2 separate regions of the Homo sapiens genome follow, and region 2 is linked to region 1. Evidence: promoter capture Hi-C in human tissues and cell types (Jung and others, 2019). All regions are on one chromosome and are shown on one strand. Each heading gives the region's core, a stretch centred on a gene start or on the middle of the fragment in contact. The rest is flanking DNA. Distances are from core to core; before and after follow the strand shown. Region 1 holds the start of CDKL3 (cyclin dependent kinase like 3). Region 2 overlaps CDKL3 (cyclin dependent kinase like 3).

What was found. The method cuts DNA at HindIII sites, captures the fragments that hold promoters and counts their contacts. A contact is called where the count stands out against the background at its distance.
Region 2: a contact is called between a fragment that was not itself captured here and the fragment with the promoter of CDKL3 in region 1, in 1 of the 25 tissues and cell types used here (pancreas).

Annotation. Positions count from the first base shown.
Region 1 is chr5:134,364,747-134,369,774 of GRCh38, forward strand. It overlaps CDKL3 (cyclin dependent kinase like 3), which reads right to left and starts at 2,425. Exons shown (of 13, transcript NM_001113575.2): 1 at 2,231-2,425; 2 at 1,613-1,798. The coding sequence starts at 1,777. The HindIII fragment of the contact is 10,082 bases long and covers 1-5,028 here.
Region 2 is chr5:134,320,624-134,325,651 of GRCh38, forward strand. It overlaps CDKL3 (cyclin dependent kinase like 3), which reads right to left. Exons shown (of 13, transcript NM_001113575.2): 5 at 1,168-1,280. Among named protein-coding and RNA genes, the nearest start is that of CDKL3, 44 kb to the right of the region's middle. The HindIII fragment of the contact is 3,004 bases long and covers 654-3,657 here.

The DNA of each region.
Region 1 (5,028 bases), core at 1,175-3,674:
AGGTGATCTGCCTGCCTCAGCCTCCCAAAGTTCTGAGATTACAGGCGTGAGCCACAGCGCCCTTTTTTTTTTTCTTTTGAGATGGAGTCTCACTCTGACGCCCAGGCTAGAGTGCAGTGGCGTGATCTCGGCTCACTGCAACCTCCACCTTCTGGGTTTGAGCGATTGTCGTGCCTCAGCCTCCTAAGTAGCTGGGATTACAGGGGCGCGACACTATGCCTGGCTAATTTTTTTTTTTTTTTTCCTTTTCTTTTGAGACAGAGTCTTGCTCTGTCGCCCAGGCTGGAGTGCAGTGGCGCTGTCTTGGCTCACTGCAAGCTCCGCCTCCCGGGTTCACGCCATTCTCCTGCCTCAGCCTCCGCAGTAGCTGGGACCACAAGCACCCGCCACCTCGCCCGGCTAATTTTTTGTATTTTTTAGTAAAGACGGGGTTTCACCGCGTTAGCCAGGATGGTCTCGATCTCCTGACCTCGTGATCCACCCGCCTCAGCCTCCCAAAGCGCTGGGAGCGTGAGCCACCGCACCCGGCCTTAATTTTTTTTGTTTAATTTTTAGTAGAGACGGGGTTTCACTATGTTGTCCAGGACGGTCTTGAACCCCTGACCTCAGGTGATCCACCCGCCTCGGCCTCTCAAAGTGCTGGGATTACAAGCGTGAGCCACCGCACCCGGCCTCATGTCTTTTTTTTTTGTTTTTTACAATACAGCATGTTCTAACTTTACTTTTCATTCACATTGCTGCATTTTAGCAAGGGTCCTCAGACATTTTCCAAAATTCCTTAATTGAACTCCTAACAGACCTATTTTTACTCTTAGTCCTCCAATCTATTCTGCACAATAGTGGTAGATTAAAATTTACATTTCTTTACACTGAATTCAAAACCTTCACGACTTTCCACCTCTTACAAAATCAAGTTTTGACTCCTTAGCCTAAAAGACTTTAAAATCTACCTCCAATTTACTGTTCTAATATACCTCTTTCCAATTCTGCTCAGAAAACTCTACAGGCACATGTCTTTGCTCTTTGTCCTTTCCACTTTGCCCTTTATCCTTTGTCCTTCTTTAGTCTCTTTTGAGTTTATGTTGTTCCTCTAACCTAGAACACAACAGTTTCTCCCTCTTATCTAAACCCTCCACATCCTTCAAAGCCAAATTCATGTCCCATTTCCTCAAAAAAACTTTCCCTACCAGGGAAAGGACTTTGTGTTGATTCCTTGGCATTTATTATGAGCCACTTTTTATTCAGTATGATTTTCATATACTCTCCTTTCTGATTAAATTATAGAAGTCTTTAAGGGCAGGAACTATCTTTTACCTCCTTATAGTCTCAGTACCTAGCACCATGCCTTGCACATAGCAGAAATTTTTATTAAGTATTATACTTGAATATTTCTGAATAATTATTAAACAATATTGGTGTAGCTTTTGTTACATACCCCAAAACACATATATCTTGTATCACTATAAAATTACAAAATGTAGATAAGATAGAGTATTACACTTGTTTCTCCATAATATGAATCAGTACGTGTGAACTAAAATATTTTATGCAATTTTTTATTCCATAACAATTTTTTCTTTTGACTTAGATGATTAAGGCAAAAGAAGCAAACCTTTAGAAACTTTATTTCTCTCATCGCAATTTTGTTGACAGATTGTTCTGGTCTCTCATAAAATATCTTAATGGCCACTATCTGCCCAGTATTCTTATGTTTACATTTCATGACTGTTCCGTAACTTCCCTCTCCCACTTTTCCAAGGGTTTCATACATCTCCATTTTCAAGCTGGGCTTTTACTACTTTATAGAAATAAAGAAAGAAAATGGAAAATGTTAAACGTTTATACTTTTATTTATTAAAACTAGATAATGCATATCCACAATAAACCCACAGTCTCAAATATAGAGACATTAAAAAAAAAAAAGGAATCTTTTCCACTGAGCCTTTTTGTCTTTGGGAACTAAAGACAGCTTGAGTAAGGTGTCCTTCTGAGGCTCCACCTCTCACCAGAACTTAGGGGTACTCCTGCTGTCTCGGTCATGCCCATCAACACTGAGACTACCACACTATAAGTCACCATCCATCAAGCATGGGGTCCCTACACTTCCTGTCATGTTCCTGTCAAATAATAGGTTCCCGCACTACTGCAGTCGCCCACTTATCAGGCCCAAGGTCCTAAAAAAAGCCTGGTCTCGCCCGCAACTCAAACCACACGTCTTAGGATGCCGGACCGGCGTCACGCCCCACGTCCCGCTGTTGACTTTATCCAAACAGCCGCCGCCGCCTCAGCCCATTCTGTGGTCCCGCTGGTCTGGCTCTGCGTAGTTCCAGTGGAGCCACCGAACACTGATACTACTTTGTTGCTCAGCCCCGCAAGGAACCGGCCACTTGCCACCATGGAAACGCCGGCGGAGTTGCTGCGTTCTAGACTCGTGCGCAAGACCGGAACATGGGCAGGGTCCCGACCCGGAAGGGGAAGTGGGAAGAAACGGAAACCTACTCTGGGTAGGCGCAAGGTGGAAGAGTGCTGTGCTTGGGAATGGGGGAGGGGAGTACAGATTGCTGTCGCAGCTGAGCCTCCTCACAAGGTTGCTTTTGAATGTGGATAGGAAGGATCTGCATCTTTTTTTTTTTTTTTTTTTTTTTTGAGATAGTCTAGCTCTGTCGCCCAGGCTGGACTGCAGTGTCGCTGATCTTGGCTCACTGCAACCTCCTCCTTCCAGGTTTAAGTGATTTTCCTGCCTCAGCCTCCCGAGTAGCTGGGATTACAGGCGTGTGCCACCACGCCCGGATAATTTTGTATTTTTAGTAGAGACGGGGTTTCTACCATGTTGGCCAGGCTGGTCTCGAACTCCCAACATCAGGTGATCCGCCTGCCTCGGCCTCCCAAAGTGCTGGGATTACAGGCGTAAGCCACCGCCCCCGGTCAAGATGGTTCTTAAATCAAAAACTTTTCTTGAACACTTGCCATATGCCTTTTAATTTTTTCCAACTGCTAGTAATCTTTTTTAAAGAAAAAAAACCTCCCTCACCACATGTCAAACTCTAGGAAAGCAAGTAATTCGAAGAGTTCCACCATATACGAAATGATGTACAAGAGCACGGAAATAAAGAGGCCAGTGTCTAACTGCTTAAGTAGACATAGAGTTCAACTGGAATGACAGTCCCTAATGAATAACCACCATATCACTAGACCAAGTGCCTAGGGAGTGCTTTCTTTATTGAATAGGGCTTTCTTTGCTTTCTTCTATAAAATGAGTTAAATGTAAAAAAGCGAAATCTCGCTATGCTTCCGCTAAATAAGAGGAAAGGCATTATTTAATAAATCTAGTCTGGTGGGTCCCACCCAGCATGCATATTTAAATCACACCTGGAGAGCTTTTAGAAAGCATCCCAACCCCCACCTCCACACCCCTGCCCCAATGCCAGAGCACCTGATTTAATTGGGATAGCGTAAATAAATTAGTATTTTTGAAGCTTCTCAAGTTTTTTCTATGCTGCTAGGGTTTATATTGAGAGAAAGGAGAAGTGGTCATCGTTTTCATTGATCACCTAAAATATTCAGAATTGTCTTTTCTTTGAAGGTTATTCAGACGGGCGCAGTGGCTAACGCCTGTAATCCCAGCACTTTGGGAGGCCCAGGCGGGCGGATCACGAGGTCAGGAGATCGAGACCATCCTGGCTAACACGGTGAAACCCCATTTCTACTAAAAAATAGAAAAAATTAGCTGGGCGTGGTGGCGGGCGCCTGTAGTCCCAGCTACTCGGGAGGCGGAGGCAGGAGAATGGCGTGAATCCGGGAGGCGGAGCTTGCAGTGAGCGGAGATCGCACCACTACATTCCAGCCTGGGTGGCAGAGCGAGACTCCATCTCAAAAAAAAAAAAAAAAAAAAAAAGAAAGTTATTCAACCACAATATAAAATACCTTCTATAAATAAGAATGTCATAGTAAATCTTATAGTGGGCTCAAACTTGGTGTAAGCATATTATTTGTTGTGGGCTAAATATTTGCAAGGAGGCTGCGCACAGTGGCTCACACCTGTAATCCCAGGGAGGCCAAGGTGGGCAGATCACTTGAGCCCAGGAGTTCCAGACCAGCCTGGGCAAGAGGGCAAAACTCCATCTCTACAAAAAATTAGCCGGGCATGGTGGTGCACACCTGTGGTCCCAGCTACTTGGGCGTCTGAAGGAGAATTACTGGAGCCCAGAAGGTCAAGGCTGCAGTGAGCCCTGTTCACACCACTGCACTCCAACCTGGGTGACAGAGCAAAACTCTGTCTCAAAAAATAAAAAAATTTGCCCAGGACAAAGATGAACCAAACTGAGTCCCTGCCCTCAATGAACTCATAATCCAGAGCTACAGAACTGATAACAGCATACAGTTAATAGCTTTAAAATTATTCCTTCTACAAGTAGGTTATGGCAGGCCTGGTTAACAAGGACAGCCAGTGATTCTTGCTAATACACAGCTGTAAGACTTTATGATGCACATTCACTGAATCAGTTAAAAGTGTTATATCATTTTGGAAAATAATAAACTGTTTCCAAAACAATTATAAATCCCTGTAGTCTCTGAATTCCTTACCTCTATTGCCTCCAGTTCCCATCTTCAGGACTTCGTTGGTGGGTCAGGAGGACTCTGAGCACTTTTGTATCCATTCGTCAGCTCAACAGGGAAAGAGGGGGTAGGAGGAGGACCTCAGCATTGCCCTAATCTTGCCCATAGTTCCATGGAACCAGAAAGGGTTAACTTTTCCCACTTTCCTTGTACCTCCCTTTCTTCAAACCCTGAATTCTGTCTCTGCTTTCAGTGACTGCCTTGACTGATAAATTACAAGGGTTTTTTTGGTTGTTGCGGGATTTTTTTGAGGCAGGGTCTCAGTGGCATGATGATGGCTCACTGCAGCTTCAACTTCCTCGTCTCAAGCGATTCTTCTGCCTCAGCCTCCTGAGTTGCTGGGACTATTGGTGTGCGCCACCATGCCTGGCTAATTTTACTTTTTGTAGAGACAGGATCTCCTATGTTGCC
Region 2 (5,028 bases), core at 906-3,405, 44 kb before region 1:
CCAGCACTTTGCGAGGCCCAGGTGGGTGGATCACGAGGTCAGGAAATCGAGACCATCCTGGCTAACACAGTGAAACCCCGTCTCTGCTAAAAATACAAAAAAAAGCCAGGTGTGGTGGCAGGCACCTGTAGTCCCAGCTACTCGGGAGGCTGAGGCAGGAGAATGGCATGAACCCAGGAGGCAGAGCTTGCAGTGAGCTGAGATCGCGCCCCTGCACTCCAGCCTGGGTGACAGAGCGAGACTCCCTCTCAAAAAAAAAAAAATTAAATTTAAAATTTAAAAAACCCACAAATCTTGAAATAGCACATTCAAGGCTAACCATCATAATGTTTTGGTGGCCAAAGCAGATCATCAAATAATTAAACTCTCATCAAACATATTCTTTTTTTTTTTTTTTTTTTTTGAGACTAAGTCTCATTCTGTTGCCCAGGCTGGAGTGCAGTGGCGTGATCGTGGCTCACTGCAACCTCTGCCTCCTGGGTTCAAGCAGTTCTCATGCCTCAGCCTCCTGAGTAACTGGGATTACAGGCACTCGTCACCATACCTGGCTAATTTTTTTTGTATTTTTAGTAGAGATGGGGTTTCACTATGTTGGTCAGGTTGGTCTCCAACTCCTGATCTCAGGTGCTCCGCCTGCCTTGGCCTCCCAAAGTGCAGGGATTACAGGTGTAAGCCACCATGCCCAGCCTTCATCAAATATGTTCTTGAATAAGTTATTTAGCTATCTGGCTGTCTATTATTGTTTTCTTTAAAAAGAAGGGTGGTTTCTGAGTAAATAATTACTTTTCTATTTCCAAGTGCTTTAAAAAAGCATCTGACTCAACTCTACTATTTAAAGTCCTTATATAAAGGTACAGATATTTGTAGAAGCCTAATTTAAAAACAACTTTTAGACAAATTAAAGTACATTCCTATTGTACTATTTTTCTTAGCATCAACCATCAACATATGGCTTAGCTATTTGCATCCTAGCAAAGAAAATATTATTTGCTAAAGCAGAGAATTTTCTGCCTTCTTTATCAGCCCAAGGAACCCATCTGCTGCCATCTATCAAAACAATATGCTTCCCTGTACTTACACAGAAAAGCTAAATTTGAAAATCAAGCAGAATTGATCTGGCAATATTTATTTTAGACATGTAACTCATGTTATTTCAGTAATACCTACCCACTTTCAAAACAATTTTATGGAGTAAATCCAAATCAGAACTACTAGGAAGATAGGGATTTCCAGTGGCCATCTCAATGATCATACAGCCCAAAGCCCAGATATCCACAGGTCTGAAACAGATCAGGGAAAAAAAAATCACTTTTTCATGTAGAAATTTATAAATATATTCTTAAAAATATGTTTAAAGAAGGCCAAGGCTAAAGAAACAAGTAGTATCATTTTAAGTTTTGTTTTGTTTTTTTTCGAGACCGAGTCTTGCTCTGTCACCCAGGCTGGAGTGCAAGTGCTGCAATCTCAGCTCACTGCAACCTCCGGGTTCAAGCAATTCTCCTGCCTCAGCCTCCCAAGTAGCTGGGATTAGAGGCGTGTGCCACCACATGTGGCTAATTTTTGTATTTTTAGTAGAGATGGGGTTTCACCATGTTGGCCAGGCTGGTCTCAAACTCCTGACCTCGTGATCTGCCCGCCTCAGCCTCCCAAAGTGCTGGGATTACAGGTGTGAGCCACCACGCCTGGCCCATTTGTAAGTTTTTATTGTAGATCATATACCGACTTTATAAGAATTGGTAATTGCTATATTGGTGAGGCTATAGGAAAGGAATAGTCCTAAGTACTGTTCTGGGAGTGTAAACTTATATGACTTCTTTGGAGGAAAAATTGGCAAAAGCCACCAAAATTTAAATTGTATATATTTTTTATTGTACAATTTTATTCCTAGGAATTTATCCTAAGATATACTCACATGTGTGCACAAATATAAATTATATGAGAATTTCACTGCAGCACTGTTCGTAGAAGAAAAAGATTGGAAACAACCTAGACCTCCACCTATAAGGGAATGGCTAAGAAAATTTTTGTACAACCCCACAATAAAATATTATTCATCTGTTAAAAATGATGAGGTCTGGCTGGACACTGTGGCTCATGCCTGTAATCCCAGCACTTTGGGAGGCCAAGGCAGGCAGATCACAAGGTCAGGAGTTCGAGACAAGCCTGACCAACATGGAAAAACCTCGTCTCTACTAAAAATACAAAATTAGCCGGGTGTGGTGGCACATGCCTGTAATCCCAGTTACTCAGGAGGCTGAGGCAGGAAAATCACTTGAACCCGGGAGGTGGAGGTTGTGGTGAGCCGAGATCATGCCATTGCACTCTAGCCTGGGCAACAAGAGCAAAACTCAGTCTCAAAAAAAAAAAAAAATTGATGAGGTAGGTCTATCTATATGTGCTGAAATGGAATGATCTCCAAGATAAACTGTCAAGTGAAAAAAGCAACATTCATGAAAGAAATAAAAGATCTAAATAAATGGAGAGATACTCCATGTTCATCAATAGGAAGACTCAATATTGTCAAGATGTCAGTTCTTCCAAGCTTTATGTAGAGTCAATACAATCCCAGACAAAATCCCAGTAAATTAAAAATTGATAATTATGTGAGGTAACACACATATGTAAATTAGCCAAATTTAGTCATTTCACAACGTATATATATACCTCAAAACATCATGCTGTACACAATAAATACATACAATTTAATCTGTAAATTTTTAAAAATCCTAGGAAATTGTTTTGTAGATATTGACAATTGATTGCAAAGTTTATATGGAGAGGCAATAGACCCAGAATAGCCAACACAATTTGAAAAAGAACAAAGACTGACACTACTTGACTTCAAGATGTTTTATACAACAAGCAAGATAGTATGGTATTGGTGAAAGAATAGATAAATAGATCAAGGGAACAGAATAAAGAACCCAGAAATAGACTTGCACAAATGTGCTCAACTGATTTTTGACAAAGGAACAGAGGCAATTGAATAATAAGATAAAAAAAAGACAGTCTTTTCAACAAATAGTGCTGGAACATACAAAAAACTGAATCTAGACACAGACCTTATCCCTTTCACAAAAATTAACTCAAGATAGATGATAGACCTAAATATAAAATGCAAAACTGTAAAACCTCTAGACAATCACATAGGAAAAAATCTAGATGGCCTTAGGTTTGGTAATGAGTTTTTAGATACAACACCAAAAGTATAATTCACAAAAGAAAAAATTGATAGTTAGAACTTCACTAAAACTAAACTTTTCTGCTCCATGAGAGATACTGTTAAGCAAATAAAAAGACAAGCCACAAACTGCGAGAAAATATTTGCAAAATAATAAAGAACTTGTATCCAAAATACATAAAACTCTTAAAATTCAATAAGAAAATAACCCAATTAAAAAATGGGCAAAATATAAGAATATACATTTCACCAAAGAAAATATACAGATGGCAAATGGGCATATTAACAGATGCCCAGTATCATATGTCATCAGACAATTGCAAATTAAAACAACGAGATACCACTACACACCTATTAGAATGCCTAAAATCCAAAATACTGACAACATCAAATGCAGGTGAGGATGGCAAACAACAGGTACTCTCATTCATTGCTGGTAGAAACACAAAATTACACAGTCACTTTGGAGGACAATTTGACAGCTTCTAACAAAGCTAAACATAGTCTTACCATACAACCCAGCAATTGCTCTCCTTGGGATTTACCCAAGTGAGTAGAACACTTCTGTCCACATAAAAACCTGGACACGAATGCTTATAACAGCTTGCTTCATAATTGCCAACACATGGAAGCAATAAAGATGTCCTTCAATAGGTGAGTGGATAAACAAACTGTGGTACATACATACAATGGAATATTATTTAGCAATAAAAGAGAAGTGAGCTGTCAAGATACCAAAAAAAAAGGAGGAACCTTAAATATATATTGCTAGGTCAAAGAAGCCAGTCTGAAAAAGCTACATACTATGTGATTCCAACTATATGATATTCTGGAAAAGCCTAAAGTATAGTAACAGTAAAAAGACCAATGATTGCCAGCAGTTCTGGGAGAGGGACGGAAGAATAAAAACGAAGCACAGAAGATTTTTAGGACCATAAAATTATTCTGTATGATACTATAATGATGGATACATGACATTATACATTTATCAAAACCCAGGAAATACAACACAGAGTAAACTCTAAACTATGGAATTTAGTTAATAATGTTCAATATTGGTACATCAATTGTAACAAATGTACCACACTAATACAAGATGTTAGTAATAGAGAAATGTGTGGAGTAGGGTGGAGGGGACATAAGGAAACTACACTTTCTGTTCAATTCTTCTGGAGCCTAAAACTGGTCTAAAAATTAAAGTCCCTGAATATAAACAAATAAAAAGTGGCAGGGCTTGGTGGCTCATGCCTGTAGTCCCAGCTACTTTGGAGGCTGAGGCAGGAGGATCACTTGAGCCTGGGAAATCAAAGCTGCAGTGAGCCATGAGTATGCCACTGTACTTCAGCCTGTGAGACAGAATGCGACACTGTCTCATAAGTAAATAAAGAAGAGTGGGGAGGGAAACCAAGATTCTATACTATGTATATAGTATGTTCCTATTTCTGTTCAAAAGGAAGGAGATGGAGAAGTATGTGTATGCATGTGTGTATACTGCTAGATAATGACCTAAGAAATAAAGGAATTAATTATAGTATATACAGTTTTTCAGATCTACATTATAACCATAGATGATATAATAGTAACTTATAAGCTTGCTTATTTCACAAGTTTTAAGAATTTAATGAATATTAGTAAGTTTTAGTGAGAATAAATAAAATTAAGACCAAGTTTTGGATCTTTTGGTGAATACACATATGTGTATGTTCAGCTTTAATTGTTATTTAATAACAGTTTTCCAGAGAGATTGTACAAGTTTACATTTCCCCACCAGTGTTATGTGAGTTCTAACTGCTCCACTTACACTGGTATTTACTGTCTTTTTTTCAATTTAACCATTCTGGTGGTTA